Regions from separate parts of the Homo sapiens genome. Here regions 1, 2, 3 and 5 are each linked to region 4. The links are contacts of gene promoters, found by promoter capture Hi-C in blood cells and fetal thymus (Javierre and others, 2016). All regions are on one chromosome and are shown on one strand. Each heading gives the region's core, a stretch centred on a gene start or on the middle of the fragment in contact. The rest is flanking DNA. Distances are from core to core; before and after follow the strand shown.

Evidence for each region. The method cuts DNA at HindIII sites, captures the fragments that hold promoters and counts their contacts. A CHiCAGO score of 5 or more calls a contact.
Region 1: a contact is called between a fragment that was not itself captured here and the fragment with the promoter of VWA5A in region 4, in 1 of 17 cell types (total B cells). The highest score is 5.6, in total B cells.
Region 2: a contact is called between the fragment with the promoter of OR8B3 here and the fragment with the promoter of VWA5A in region 4, in 2 of 17 cell types (total B cells and naive B cells). The highest score is 5.5, in total B cells.
Region 3: a fragment that was not itself captured here is called in contact with the fragment with the promoter of VWA5A in region 4 in 3 of 17 cell types (naive B cells, total B cells and M2 macrophages); the score reaches 10.9 in naive B cells.
Region 5: a contact is called between a fragment that was not itself captured here and the fragment with the promoter of VWA5A in region 4, in 1 of 17 cell types (total B cells). The highest score is 5.9, in total B cells.

What each region holds. Positions count from the first base shown.
Region 1 is chr11:124,371,448-124,374,147 of GRCh38, reverse strand. No RefSeq gene overlaps it. Among named protein-coding and RNA genes, the nearest start is that of OR8B2, 12 kb to the left of the region's middle. The HindIII fragment of the contact is 152 bases long and covers 1,220-1,371 here.
Region 2 is chr11:124,397,679-124,400,378 of GRCh38, reverse strand. OR8B3 (olfactory receptor family 8 subfamily B member 3) reads left to right here and starts at 1,355. Exons shown (of 2, transcript NM_001005467.2): 1 at 1,355-1,689. The HindIII fragment of the contact is 12,656 bases long and covers 1-2,700 here.
Region 3 is chr11:124,588,555-124,591,254 of GRCh38, reverse strand. No RefSeq gene overlaps it. Among named protein-coding and RNA genes, the nearest start is that of OR8A1, 20 kb to the right of the region's middle. The HindIII fragment of the contact is 1,064 bases long and covers 799-1,862 here.
Region 4 is chr11:124,114,142-124,116,841 of GRCh38, reverse strand. VWA5A (von Willebrand factor A domain containing 5A) reads right to left here and starts at 1,392. Exons shown (of 19, transcript NM_001130142.2): 1 at 1,360-1,392; 2 at 162-276. The HindIII fragment of the contact is 2,481 bases long and covers 1-1,684 here.
Region 5 is chr11:124,606,180-124,608,886 of GRCh38, reverse strand. No RefSeq gene overlaps it. Among named protein-coding and RNA genes, the nearest start is that of PANX3, 3.9 kb to the left of the region's middle. The HindIII fragment of the contact is 6,490 bases long and covers 1-2,707 here.

The DNA.
Region 1 (2,700 bases), core at 46-2,545, 260 kb before region 4:
GGTGCCTCTAGCAGCAGGACACGGGCTGAGCAAGGCCCTGGCAGGGGGTAGGGGGTGTCACAGGCCATGGAAGTCCCCAGTTGGCAAAGTGGCTGAGAAAAATCCTGCATCATTACTACTGTGAATGAACTTAGGGCAAGATGCCCCTCAAAGGATATATCATAGGTAGGGGACATGATTAATTATCATTGTAATTTTTATGTTTATGCAGATACCATAATTTTTGAAAAGTTCTAAAACATTTTGTGAGAATAGCCTTAGAAGATGATATTTCTGGCTAAGTACTTTACTTCTATGTGATTAAAATTATTGGTGTTAGAGTGAAGAGTCAAGTTTTTATATTCATTATGATATTTATCTTACTTAATTTTGTTTAAAACTTTTATTCCTGAAGCAGAGTCTGAATGTCTGTATTTGCTTCTACCTTTCTTGTGCCTACATTCATTATAGTGCCTGGTTAAAGAGAAACCTTAAAACTGTTTGGTTTGGATTTTGCTCTAAAGCACATATTTTAGAAGTTCACGTTTTAATGACATAGAAAAAGGTGTATAAAATTCATGTCTATAACCACCCAGTACTTAACAAAAAAGTAAAATGTGAATTGCAGGCATAGAATATACATTGTGATCTGAGTACTGTATTGTAGTCACCAGCACTCCTTCATGGAAAATGAATCAGCAACTAGCTTGACTTAGTTCTGTGAAGTCAACAGGCTTATTTTACAGGTTGAATTTCTTGTGTTGACCTGGCAAGTGTAACTGATTTTTTTAATTAAAACCATTTCTAATAATATTTATAACTAATGTTTAAATTAAAGCCTATTATCTTTTAAAATTAATGTAATGAGGCCAGGCGCGGTGGCTCATGCCTGTAATCCCAGCACTTTGGGAGGCCGAAGTGGGAGGATCACCTGAGGTCAGGCGTTCAAGACCAGCCTGACTGACATGGAGAAACCCCATCTCTACTAAAAATACAAAATTAGCCGAGGGTGGTGGTGCATGCCTGTAATCCCAGCTACTCAGGAGGCTGAGGCAGGAGAATCACTTGAACCTGGGAGGCAGCGGTTGTGGTGAGTCGAGACGGCTCTGTTGCACTCCAGCCTGGGCAACAAGAGCGAAACTCCATCTCAAAAAAAAAAATTAATGTAATGAGAAAATTAGACATAAAATAACTTTCGAATGTATAAGCTTATTTTACAATTACTGAATGTTTACAAGCTTTGTATGTGTAATTTGGTAAAGATATAGCTATTGTCAAATACTTGTTTCTTATTTGTTGTATCACAGTTTCTCCATGCACACAATTCAAACTGGAAAAACATACTAACATATGTTAAAGACACATAAAATCTTTCTTTTTTACATAAAAGCTTAATTATATTAATTACATATATTTTAAACACAGATTATATTGCATTAACTTAAAATGGCAATATCCCAAGGTTTAACTTTCAGGAAAAACGTTAAGTTAGAAATTATATTTTGAGGTTCATGAAATGGTGCCTATTGACCAACCAAGTTCACTTCATCACCCGAAGGAATTGAAATGTTACCAGGTCCTGGATTTGACATAGCAGCAAGGCTGACTTATTAATGAAAAGGTTTTGAGGTACTTCTTTCCAAACGTCTCATTCTTTCTCCTTTATGAAAATAGATTGGGACAGAGCTTTCTAACTACTGCACAGCAGATAGAATGGCAAAAGGGGTTTGAGGTTAAGGTACTGAGCCTAGGATAGCCAGGTTGGGAATTTCAGTTTGGTTGCTTTGGCAGATTTAGCTTGGGAAGGGCTCCTGGGTGGTCAAGAGTAAAGAAGTATGATGTGACAGCACAGCATGTCTTTGGCAGGAGCAAGAGCAGTGAGACAAGATAGCACTCATTGCTCCACTTTAAAATTCCAACCAAAGAGATGCTTCACCCCTGGATACCAGCTACAGCTGTCACATGCAGAGGGGGACACAGCTTATTGTGAACAAGAGGCCCATGGGTTTGCTGACGGGGTTTTCAGGTGCCCAAGAAGTACAGTGCCCAGCTTTAAGTGCTGCTCTCTGTGGTCTGGACTCTCTGTTCCCAGATCAGATACTTCTGCCCATTTCCAGCTGATATATTCTGTTAGTATCATCTGTTAGCATGACTGGTCTAAAAATGCACAAGTTTACTGCAAATTAGGGTATCTTTGTTATTTGGAAATATTAAGTAAAAAAGTGAACTTGGTTCCAAACTGCTTTAAAATAAAATTTGTCAATGAAAGAAAAGACCATTTGCATTATTTGAATGGGATTTCAATTTTAAATATTTGGCTGATTTTTTCAAAACAATTTTAAATTCTGTTACTTTTACATTCAAATTTGTTGTTGGTGGTGATTGTAAATATTTGTTAGTTATAATTACTAAGAATTCTCATGCAGTAATTACAAGTAGTTGTTTTATTCACAAAACCTGATAGAAAAAATTACTTTCCAGGAGCAAGCACCAATTTTTGTTGATTATTATGAAGATATTTTATTTGAAAATGTTATCTAATAAAAATAAAACATCACAATTCTGATTTTAAGTGTATTTTGGGTTTTAAATAATTTACATTAATGTGGTACATATTGAAAAGACTCTGTTTCCTTATTTTATCAACAAATTTATCATATGCATTGAAAAGTTCACAAAATATTCATTTATAATTAAATGAATAATGAAAGCAGTCAATGT
Region 2 (2,700 bases), core at 106-2,605, 280 kb before region 4:
TATATATTTCAAAATTGCTAAGAGAGTAGATTTTAAGTGTTTACACTACAGAAAATCAGTATGTGAGTTGATAGGTGTGTTAATGATCTTAATTTAATAATTTCATGATGTATACATTTATCAAAACACCACATTGTATCCCATAAATACATATAATAATTACTAATAAAAAATAAGAAAACAAAAGTTTATACATCTCTTTTAAGATGGATATTTTTGGCTGGGTATGGTGACTCACTCCTGTAGTCCCACCACTTTGGGAGGCCAAGGCAGGTGGATTACTTGATCCCAGGAGTTCAAGACCAGCCTGGGCAATATGATGAAATCCTGTCTCTATAAAAAATACAAAAATTATCCAATGGTGGTGGCATGTGCCTGTAGTCCCAGCTACTTGGGAGGCTGAGGTGGGAAGATCTATTGAACCTGGGAGGTTGAGGCTGCAGTAAGCTGTGATTGCAGCAAAGCAGGACACAGTCTCAAAAAAAAAAAAAAAGAGAATTCTGTATCCTGACTTAGGTGGTGGTTACATAAATATGTACATGGGATAGAATTGCATAGATTTGCACACACATACATACGAGCATGTTAAACTAGTGAATAAGGTCTGTAGTTTCGTTAACATTATTGAACCTATGTCAATTTCCTGGTTTTGCTATTGTCCTATAGTCGTGGAAGACATCGCCATGTGAGGAAACTGGGTGAAGAGTTCAAGGGAATCTACGTATGACTTTTGCCACTTCTTGTGATTCTAGTAATTTTAAAATAAAAAGGTAAAAAAATAGATGCCTTCTCACAAGCACAAATTCCTACCTACAGAGAAATTCTAAAGTCACACTGTCTTGAAATAACGGCCCATGAATAGTGATTTTTCTTACGGATTTGATTTTAACATGAAAGACAAAGACATGTTGAGTTAGAGCAACCCAAGGTAAATACATTTTTATGAAATAAAGGATAATTCTATGTTACACAAAATTTTTATTAAAAAATCTGAAATCAATTAAAAGTATCCCTTTTCTTTATGCCTATGAAGTATGCAAAAGTAAAAATGGATTATTTGAAAGATTATTTAAAAGGACTCACAATATTAAAAATGAGCATATAAACTTCACTAAATTATACTTACATTCCTGTTAAAGCTAATATACTACCTAGGATTATAATTAGCAAAAATTCTGACAATCATTACATTTACATCTTTATACATGAGAGCAGATGCTCTTTCTCCTATGCCCTGTGGATTGTATAATCCCTGATGAGAAATTTACCTCTACTACAACAAATTAGGCTGTAAACAAGGGCATACAATTTCTTCCCTGCAGAGTTTGTCATGGTAGGGGAGGTCCTGAGAGAGACTTACTGGGGGATATGTAATCAGGTCCAAAAGAATTGTAAGCCTTGAGCAAATGCCATGTGCTCTATGACATGGTAGCTCTGGTTTGAAGTGCAGTTTTCCAACAAACCCTCTTGGCAAATTTATAAATAATAGTTTGATCTACACCACAAAATGATTCCCAGAACATTCAGATTCTGAGATCTCTGCTCAATGCTTTTGCCAGTCAAGGGAGAAGAAGATTCTGTGACTACATCTGATCAACATAGATACCTTCACAGCCATTTCTTCCTCCAGGGCAGTGGAGGTGAAACACATATCAATGGTCAGCACTGAGTTCTCTGAGTGGAAGGAAGGTGAGTTAATCAAGTTTCTATTTCTCTCTCCTGGATGTTGCTGAAAAATGGGGAAAAGTATTCTATTCAATAGCAAGAAACTTAGTGGTATGGAGCTCTGACTCTTGGGCTTGCATTTTTCTCACACTGTTCTCTCTGTTGGCTTCATTCTTAGCCTGGTATCAAGATAGCAATAGCAGTTCCAAGTGACACATCCAGAACAGAGGAATGCCAGGAAAGGATATTTGTCTCTTTATTAAAAAATATATTGACATGTGCTATACATATAGAAGAGTTTAAGGGTCATAAAAATACCAGTTTGGTAAAATTTTACAAACTTAACAACTAATATAACTGTACCCAAATTAATTATGTTTCTCTTATGCCTTCCTACAAAGACCTGTGAAAGCACATTCAGCTTCCTTTCTTCATCCTGTCTAGCTAGGATGGAATAGAGGAGAATGTGTAGAAACACTTATGTGATTTGTATGTGGTGAATCATAAGGCTTTGACTACTAAGGGTCTTCTGTTATCACCTGGTGACTTCATGGATTCTTATAGTAAGGTATCTAGAAACCCTATAGGAGACCCCTGTCTAGGAAACAGAATATCGGTATGGTCTCTGCCCTAAAGGAATCCTCCCTTACCTGGTGGTCATCACAAGGAAACTGAAGTGTCTAGTAGAATAATGGAAACATAAGTAGAAACTAGGAAGTGGCCAGGCTCGGTGGTTCACACCTGTAATTCCAGCACTTTGGGAGGCTGAGGCAGGTGGATCATCTGAGGTCAGGAGTTTGAGACCAGCCAGACCAATATCATGAAACACTGTCTCTACTAAAAATACAAAAATTAGCTGGGATCGTGGCATGTGCCTGTAATCCTAGCTACCTGGGAGGCTGGACAGGAGAATCTCTTGAACCCGGGAGGCAGAGGTTGCAGTGAGCCGAGATCCCACCATTGCACTCCAGCCAGGGCAACAAGCGTGAAACTCCATCTTAAAAAAAAAAAAAAGAAACTAGGAAGTGAAGGGCC
Region 3 (2,700 bases), core at 81-2,580, 470 kb before region 4:
GACGGAGTCTCGCTTTGTCGCCCAGGCTGGAGTGCAGCGGTGCCATCTCGGCTCACTGCAAGCTCCGCCTCCCAGGTTCACGCCATTCTCCTGTCTCAGCCTCCCGAGTAGCTGGGACTACAGGCGCCTGTCACCACGTCCGGCTAATTTTTTGTATTTTTAGTAGAGACGGGGTTTCACCGTGTTAGCCAGGATGGTCTCGGTCTCTCGACCTCGTGATCCTCCCACCTCGGCTTTCAAAAGTGCTGGGATTACAGGGTTGAACCACCGCGCCCAGCCTCTATTCAATTTTTATGTCAGTCTTTTTTCTCTCTGCGTTTCAATTTGGATAATTTCTATCACTGTGTATTCAAGTGCATTGATATTTTCTTCTGCAGCATCTGATGTTAATACAATCAAGTCATTATTTTTCTTTACAGATATTATATATGTTTTAATCTCTAGATGTTCCATTTGGTTATTTTTGGTATCTTCCATTTCTCTCAGCATCATGTTTACTTTAAAAAAAATATTGACTATATTGAACGTATAATAGCTAATTTTAAAGCTCAATTTGCCAGTTCCATCATCTCTGTCATTTCTGGGATGTTTCTGCTAAGAAATTTCTTCTGGCTACAGGTCACATTTTTATGTTTCTTCCACATCTAGTAATTTTCAATCAGGCACGGACATAATAGATTTTATGTTGTTGAGTGCTAAATTTTGTTATATTCCTTTAAGGTGTGTTGGGAATTCTTTTGGAAGGCTTTTAAGCATCTTGAGGGTCAATTTGATCTTTTTGAAGTTCATTTTTAAGCTTAACTTAGGTATCAAGCCAAAGTCTCCGGTAGACCTCTGTGCAGATTTGTGGGGTTCTTTTTTGCAGAGCTCCCTCTTCTCACTTTCTGCTCCACAGCTTCCTGCTGCTCTGACCTTCCTGAACACGTCTGTCTCTTCACTTCAGTGAGACTACCAAGCCCTTTTTCTTCCTGATCCCTGCCTTCCTGAAATTGCCTCTAAGCAGGAAATTCTCATTCGTTTTCCCTTTTCTCCCTCTGGAATAACAATCTTCTGCTACCTTTTGTCAATGTCTGAAGACAGTTGTTTTGCACATTTTTTTCTGGTTTTCTAATGATTTAGGGTAGGGGGCAAGTCAGGACCCTGTTACTCCATCATGATTAGAAGAGAAAGTCTCAACCCTCCTTTTTCTTGAAGCATCTTTCCTATAGTTTTAATGTGCATTTCTTGTATGAGAAAAGTTGAATATCTTTTTATATGTTCAAGAGCCATTAATATATCTATTTTCTCTGAAGTCTCTATTTATGTCTTTTGCTCATTTTTGTCTTGGGTTGTAGGTCTTTTTATTTTCAAATACTAGAAGGTCATTATTAAATATATTAGCTTTTTGTCTGAGATATAAATTCCATATAGATTTTTCTCATTTTTTATCTTCTGACTTTTCTTACAATTTTTTTCCAGGCAAAAAGCGCTTTCTAGAATATAGTCACATTTATTAAAATTTTATTTATAGGCTCTGGGTTTTGAATAATTGTCTGCCAAGTATAATCTACTTTCAGGTTATAAATAACTTCGTCTATGTTTCATTTTCCTTTCCAGAACTTGTATGAATTTAATTTTTACATTTGGATGTATTTGAAATTTATACTGTTTGTGGTGTGAGAAATAGATCTAATTTTATTATTTTTCATAAGGCTATCCAGTTATACCCTCACCGTTAAAAAACGATAACCTATCCTTTCCCCTGTTGATTCTAGTTGCTACCTTCATCAAATATTAAACTACATTTTGATTTGTTTTATATTCTGTTCCAGTGGACTACCACCCCATTCACGTGCTAATATTTTGCTTTAATTACAGAAGCTTTAATTATGTTGTTTTCACGTATGTTAGGGTTAGCTTCTACAAGTTGTGATCCCTCATGCCCCCAGGATTTTCCATGGTATTCTTGCCTATTTATTCTTTCAGACGAACTTCATTATCAGTTTGTCTTCCTCCAGACAAAAAAAAAAAAAAAAAAAAAACAAAAAAAACCCTCCTACTATATTTATCAAGATCATGTTACATTTACAATCTTAGAACTAACTGATACATTCTGGTGTTGAGTCTGACAATGGGAGACCACCGTATGCCTTTCTGTTTGTTAGATATGCTTTTGTGTCCTTTAGGTATGTGCGTACTTTTAGTCATGTAGGTTTTGTACATTTTTAAACTAGATTTTTGATTAGAAATTTTATTTTCTATTGTAATGAGATCTATTGTGACATGTTCTACCAGGTTATTGTTTGTATACGAAGTATATTGATTTCTAATTTTACTCCTGCAACGTAACTGGTATTGTTTTTAGTATGTTTCATGGATTATTTTGGAATTTCCAAAAAATTAATAATAGTATCTGCCTATACAGATAGTTGTACCTCTTCCTTTATGATTCTTTTGCCTTTAATTTCTTTCTCTTGTCTAATTGCATTGGTTCCCTACTTTACAATATTAATTAATAGAAGAGATAGTAGACATATTGGTCTAGTTCAGGCTTTAATGGGAATGTATCTAATATTTTTACTATAAGGATGTTTTCACATTTACCTTTAGAATATGTCATTGATTCCTATTTCACTGAATATTTAAAAATAATGATTGAACTATTGAAGGTATTGAATTTGATCAAACGCTCTTTCATGTGCTCTTAGTGCCGCCCCCTCC
Region 4 (2,700 bases), core at 143-2,642:
TTGTATCCATCCAAGATATTCTAATATATTTAAATATTATATAGGCACATAGCCTACATTTGCACCCCCACTAAACAGCACCAATAAATCAGGCTTTTCATTCCATATCTGTTTTTATTTTGAGAAATTGGATAAAAACTGAGTGTGGCAAAATGACTCACAATTCGACAGCAACGCAGAGGACAGTGGCAGGTGTGAGGAGAGGAGAGGATGCTCAGAAAAGGGCTTCTACGCAGACCTCTGACCTGGGCAAGTTCTCTGGTAGAACAGGCTGGGCTGGGGGAGGGAAGAATTTCTAATAACACATTAAGCAGAGAGCCTAAAGCAGGAGACTCACACAGGAGTAAAACAGCTGAAAGAGAAGCTCTCAGGCTGGGCAATACTCACCAAGGTGGCTAGAGTAAAAGAGAGAGAGACGCAAAGGGCACCCCTACAAGGAAATAGCCTTCGCTTCCTGATTCTAAGCTCAGAACAAATCCTCCGTTGAGGAAAACTTGCTATTCTGCACCCTTGCCCCCACTCTTCCCAGTACAAACAAAATTAGTTTGGGTCAGAATTAGTTCTGTCTCTCAGGATGGCACTTCAGAAAGGCAACTTGCAAGGCTTAGGTAGAGACTGGCCACCAAGCTGAAAGCCATGAATCTGAGGCAGCTGGGAGAATACAAGGCTTCCGGCCTAGCCAGGTAGCTGCTTCAGGAATGCAGAGTCCCAGCACCAGCCGCTCAGCAGCTAGGAGGGTGGGAGGGGAGCTGGGTGGCACCACCGGCCACACACACCCCTGCGGCCTGTGGCAGGGGTGAAGTGGAGAACTCGGAACCAGACAAGGAGGAGATTTGGGGTAAGAAGTGGGGCTTGGATAAAATCAGAGATTGATTTAACCTTTCCATTCAGTCCTAGATTTCCAATGTCCACGTATTTACAGAAGAGACTGCGTCGGTCTCTTACATTTCTATAGAGAAGGGCTTAGGGGCTGCAACTGATTGGAGTAGATGAGGCTTACAGCCTCATTTCCTCAGCTTACACTATCCTGAAACTGAGAAAACATCAATTGTCTATATCAAAGAAAGAAAGCGGGAAAAAAAGTAAAGTAAAAGAGAAGGAAAGTAGGAAGAAGGGCCTTGAGATTAGGAGATGGCTAAATCCCTCCTTCAACCTCCAAAAGATTCCCCTAAACTGCCAAACTTGCAGGAACCTTCCTGGGGATCATACATCAGGATGAAATCCTCCACCCATGGGGCGTGCAATTCAAGGAGCCCCTACAAATTTGGGGACTGGGGAAAGGGAGCTAGAATGTGGAGCTCTCAGTCTTCCAGAGCAGGGGTTGGATCCAGGCCCTGCACCGGTAGCTTGGTCCCCTACCTTCCTCTCCTGCAGCCCGGAGCGCTCTGAGTCACAGCGGAGTGAAAACAGCTGCAGTCATAATTTCCGGAAAGAACCGCCCCCTTCTAGGGACCGGTTATAAAGTAGCGACTACAAGACTAAGGGATCAACGGAAAATTATTGAACAAATAATCGAACTTTCGCTTGTTTGTATCAAAGGAAAAGTCTTCGACTTTGGAACGTTTGGTTTTTTTCTTTGCTCTTTGCTAAGGAACAATCAGAGAACAGGCAAAGAGGGCAAGGGAAAATGCTGCAACAGGAACAACAACAATGACATTAAAAACTGCATATTTTTGTAAAAGCTTAATTGCCAAAGGCTTACTGTGTCCTGGGCCCTGTTAATCAAAGCTTTATGGAGATTATATCATTGACACCTTATCTCTAATGTGAGTCATTTTCCCCCAAGTTGCCCCTCCCCTACAGCAGGGGGAAAGATAAGGAGATAGTGCAAGGCACACACATCTGCTCTAATGAGAGAAGCTCTAGCCAGGGAAGCCCAAGTCTTCCTGTCATGGGTCGCTTATGGGATCCTGAAACCAAATGTTTGGGTTAACGATGTAAGTAACTGAGAATGTCTATGCTCATTTACCTGGCTAAAGGACATTAGAAGCGATCAAGGTCCCCATGGCTTCTCTATTTCAAAACAACCTATTAAATCTGAGACTTAAAGTGTCATATTGCTGTCGAGAATCTATAGGATAAAGAATACATGATACATATGGAAAACACAGCTTGATTTTGGTCTCTGTGATGTATTTTTTGTGGATATACTTGTTATATACTGGTTATATACTTGTTTTTGTGAGATATTTGTTATATACAAATAACTCTCCCCAAGTTATTTGTTCTCTCATCTGAAACGGGGATAATGACAAACCTCCACTGATTGTTTTTGTGAGATCTAATGAATCTTAGTGGCTATAAAAGTTTTATATATATATATATATATATATATATACACACACACACACACACACACACACATTTATATACTTTATATATATACACCCACATACACATTTATATACATGGATGTGCATGCATAGATGTATATATGTGTATATATGTACACCCATGCATGTATATACAGTTACATGCATGTAATATATGCATATATAGTAAAGCATAATATAAGCACAAATTCTATTTTATCAGTACTAGGCCCTACAACCATGTTTTTTACATGTACTGAACTAATTATGAGAGGAAATTATCCTTTTCTCTGGAGAGAAATCATGTCTGGTATTGTTCCTTGTGACTGTGCCTTCTTTCCATTGGCCGAAACATCTGAGCAACAAAAGGGAGGAGCTGGAAACGTGG
Region 5 (2,707 bases), core at 156-2,655, 490 kb before region 4:
AACTTGAATATCTCTGTTGACTAATGAAGTTGGCTACTTCGGCCATTTGGATATCTTCTTTTGTGGATGGATGTGGGTGTACGTCTGAGTCTTTTGCCTGTTTTTCTGTTGGGTTGTCTGTCTTTTGCTTATTGATTTGTAGTACTCTTTCAAATATTCTGGATGTGAGACCATTGCTAGCAATATGTTTTATTTATATCTTCTTCCACTCCACTTGTTGCCTTTTCATTCTCTTAATGGTGTCTTTTGATGACCAGAATTTCTAATTTTAATACAGTCAATGTATCATTTTTTTCTATGGATAGTGCTATATGTATTCTGTTTAAGAAGCAATTGGTTATTAATTACAATACCATGAAAAATGTTTCCTAGGTGTTCTCCAAAATATTTTTGTTTTATCTTTCTCATTTGGGTCTGCAGTTCATCTATAATTTTTTTTAACATATGGTATGAGATATGAGTCAAGAAATATTATTTTCCATATGGCTATCCAGCTGACTCAGCACAATTTATTGTAAGACCTTTCCTTTCTCATTGCAGTGCAGTGTTGTCATGGTCATAAATCAGGTGACTGTGTTCCAGCTGACAATGTCTTTTTTTTTTTTTTTTTTTTTTTGCCAACACTACAATATCTTAGCTAGTATAGCTTTATAGTAGGTCTTGGCACCTGTAGTGTAGATCTTCCAGTTTTATTGTTCTTCAGGATTGCTCTGGCTATTTTGGATCTTTTGCATTTCTACATGAATTTTACCATCAGTTTTTGAATTTCAGCAGGAAAGAAACCTGCTGGAATTTTTGATTGTGACTTTAATTTACAGCTTAATTTGGGAAAAATTGCCTTCTTTACAGCATTTAGTCTTCAAATCTATGAACATGGCATATCCCTCCATTTGCTTAAGACTTCTTTCTGAGGCCGGGTGCAGTGGCTCACACCTGTAATCCCAGCACTTTGGGAGGCCAAGGTGGGTGAATCACCTGAGGTCAGGAGTTCGAGACCAGCCTGGCCAACATGATGACAACCCATTTCTAGTAAAAATACGAAAAATTAGCTGGACGTGGAGACAGGTACCTGTAATCCCAGCTACTCGGGAGGCTGAGGCAGAAGAATCACTTGAACCCGGGAGGTGGAGGTTGCATGAGCCGAGATCGTGCCACTGCACTCCAGCCTGGGCAACAAAAGTGAAACTCTGTCTCAAAGAAAAAAAAAAAAAAGACGTCTTTCTGTCCGTAGCAACTTTTGGTTTTAAGTGCAGATGTCTTACACATCTATTGTTGGATTTATTCCTAGGTGTTTGATGTTTCTTGATGCTATTGTTAACCATATATTTTTTAAAAAATTGATTTTCTAATTGTTTGTTGCTCACATATGAAAATACAACTGATTTTTGTACACTGATCTTGTATACGTCAATCTTATTGAATTCATTTATTGATTCTAATAGTTTGTAGATTAATTCAGATTTTTAAAAATCTATACAACCATATCATTTATGAAAAATCACAGCTTTCTTTCTTTCTTTCTTTCTTTCTTTCTTTCTTTCTTTCTTTCTATCGTTATGCCTTTTATTTATTTTCTTGCCTTATTACACTGGTTAGGCCATCCAGTATAATATTGAATATGAGTAGTGATAATGGGTATCTCTGTCTTGTTCCTTCTCTCAGGCGGAAAGTTTTCAGTGTTATTATTGAGCAGGATGTTCATTGTAGGTTTTTTTCCTTTTTTTTTATTGGTAGGAATTCTTTTTCACATTAAAGAAGTTCTCCTTTATTCCTAGCTTGCTAAGTGTGTTTGATATGAATGAATATTCAATTTTTAAAAATATTTTTTCTGCATACTTTGAGATGCTCATATGATTTTTATCTTTATGTGTATTATTTTGATGAGATATATTGATCAATTTTTGAATGTTAAATTACTCTTGCATCTGTGAAATAAATCTCACTTAGTTCAGATATATTACCTTTTAAATTTTTTACTGGTTTCAGTTTGCTAATATTTTGTTAAGGATTTTTACATTTCTATTTAAAAAGAAGAAAGAACTTGATTTAATTTTCCTTTTTTATCAGGTCTTTGGCAGGTTATGCTGGCCATGCCAAAAGAGTTAGGAAGTATTTCTTCTTTATCTGCCTCCTCTTGTAAGAGTTTGTGCAGTATTGGTATTATTTCTTCATTAAATATTTGGCAGAATTTACAGGTGAAACCACCTAGTCTTGGGATTTTCTTTGTGTGGAATTTTAGTAATGGATTCAATTTCCTTAGTCAATATTTGACTATTCAGATTTTCTTTTTTTTAACTTTTACTTTATTTTATTTTTTTTGATATGAAGTCTCACCCTGTTGCCCAGGATGGAGCACAGTGGCGCTATCTCGGCTCACTGCAACCTCTGCTTCCAGAGTTCAAGCGATTCTCCCACCTCAGCTTCTGGAGTAGCTGGGATTACAGGCGTGTGCCACCATGCCCAGCTAAGTTTTGTATTTTTAGTAGAGACAGGGTTTCACCATGTTGGCCAGGCTGGTCTCGAACTCCCAACCTCAGGTGATCCCCCCGCCTCAGCCTCCCAAAGTGCTGACATTACGGGCGTGAGCCACCGCGCCTGGCCTGACTAATCAGATTTTCTAGTTTCTCTTAACATAGCTTAAATGCACTAGCTTTCTATTGTTGCATAAAAAATTACCCCAAAATGTAGGGCTTAAAACAAAAAAAAT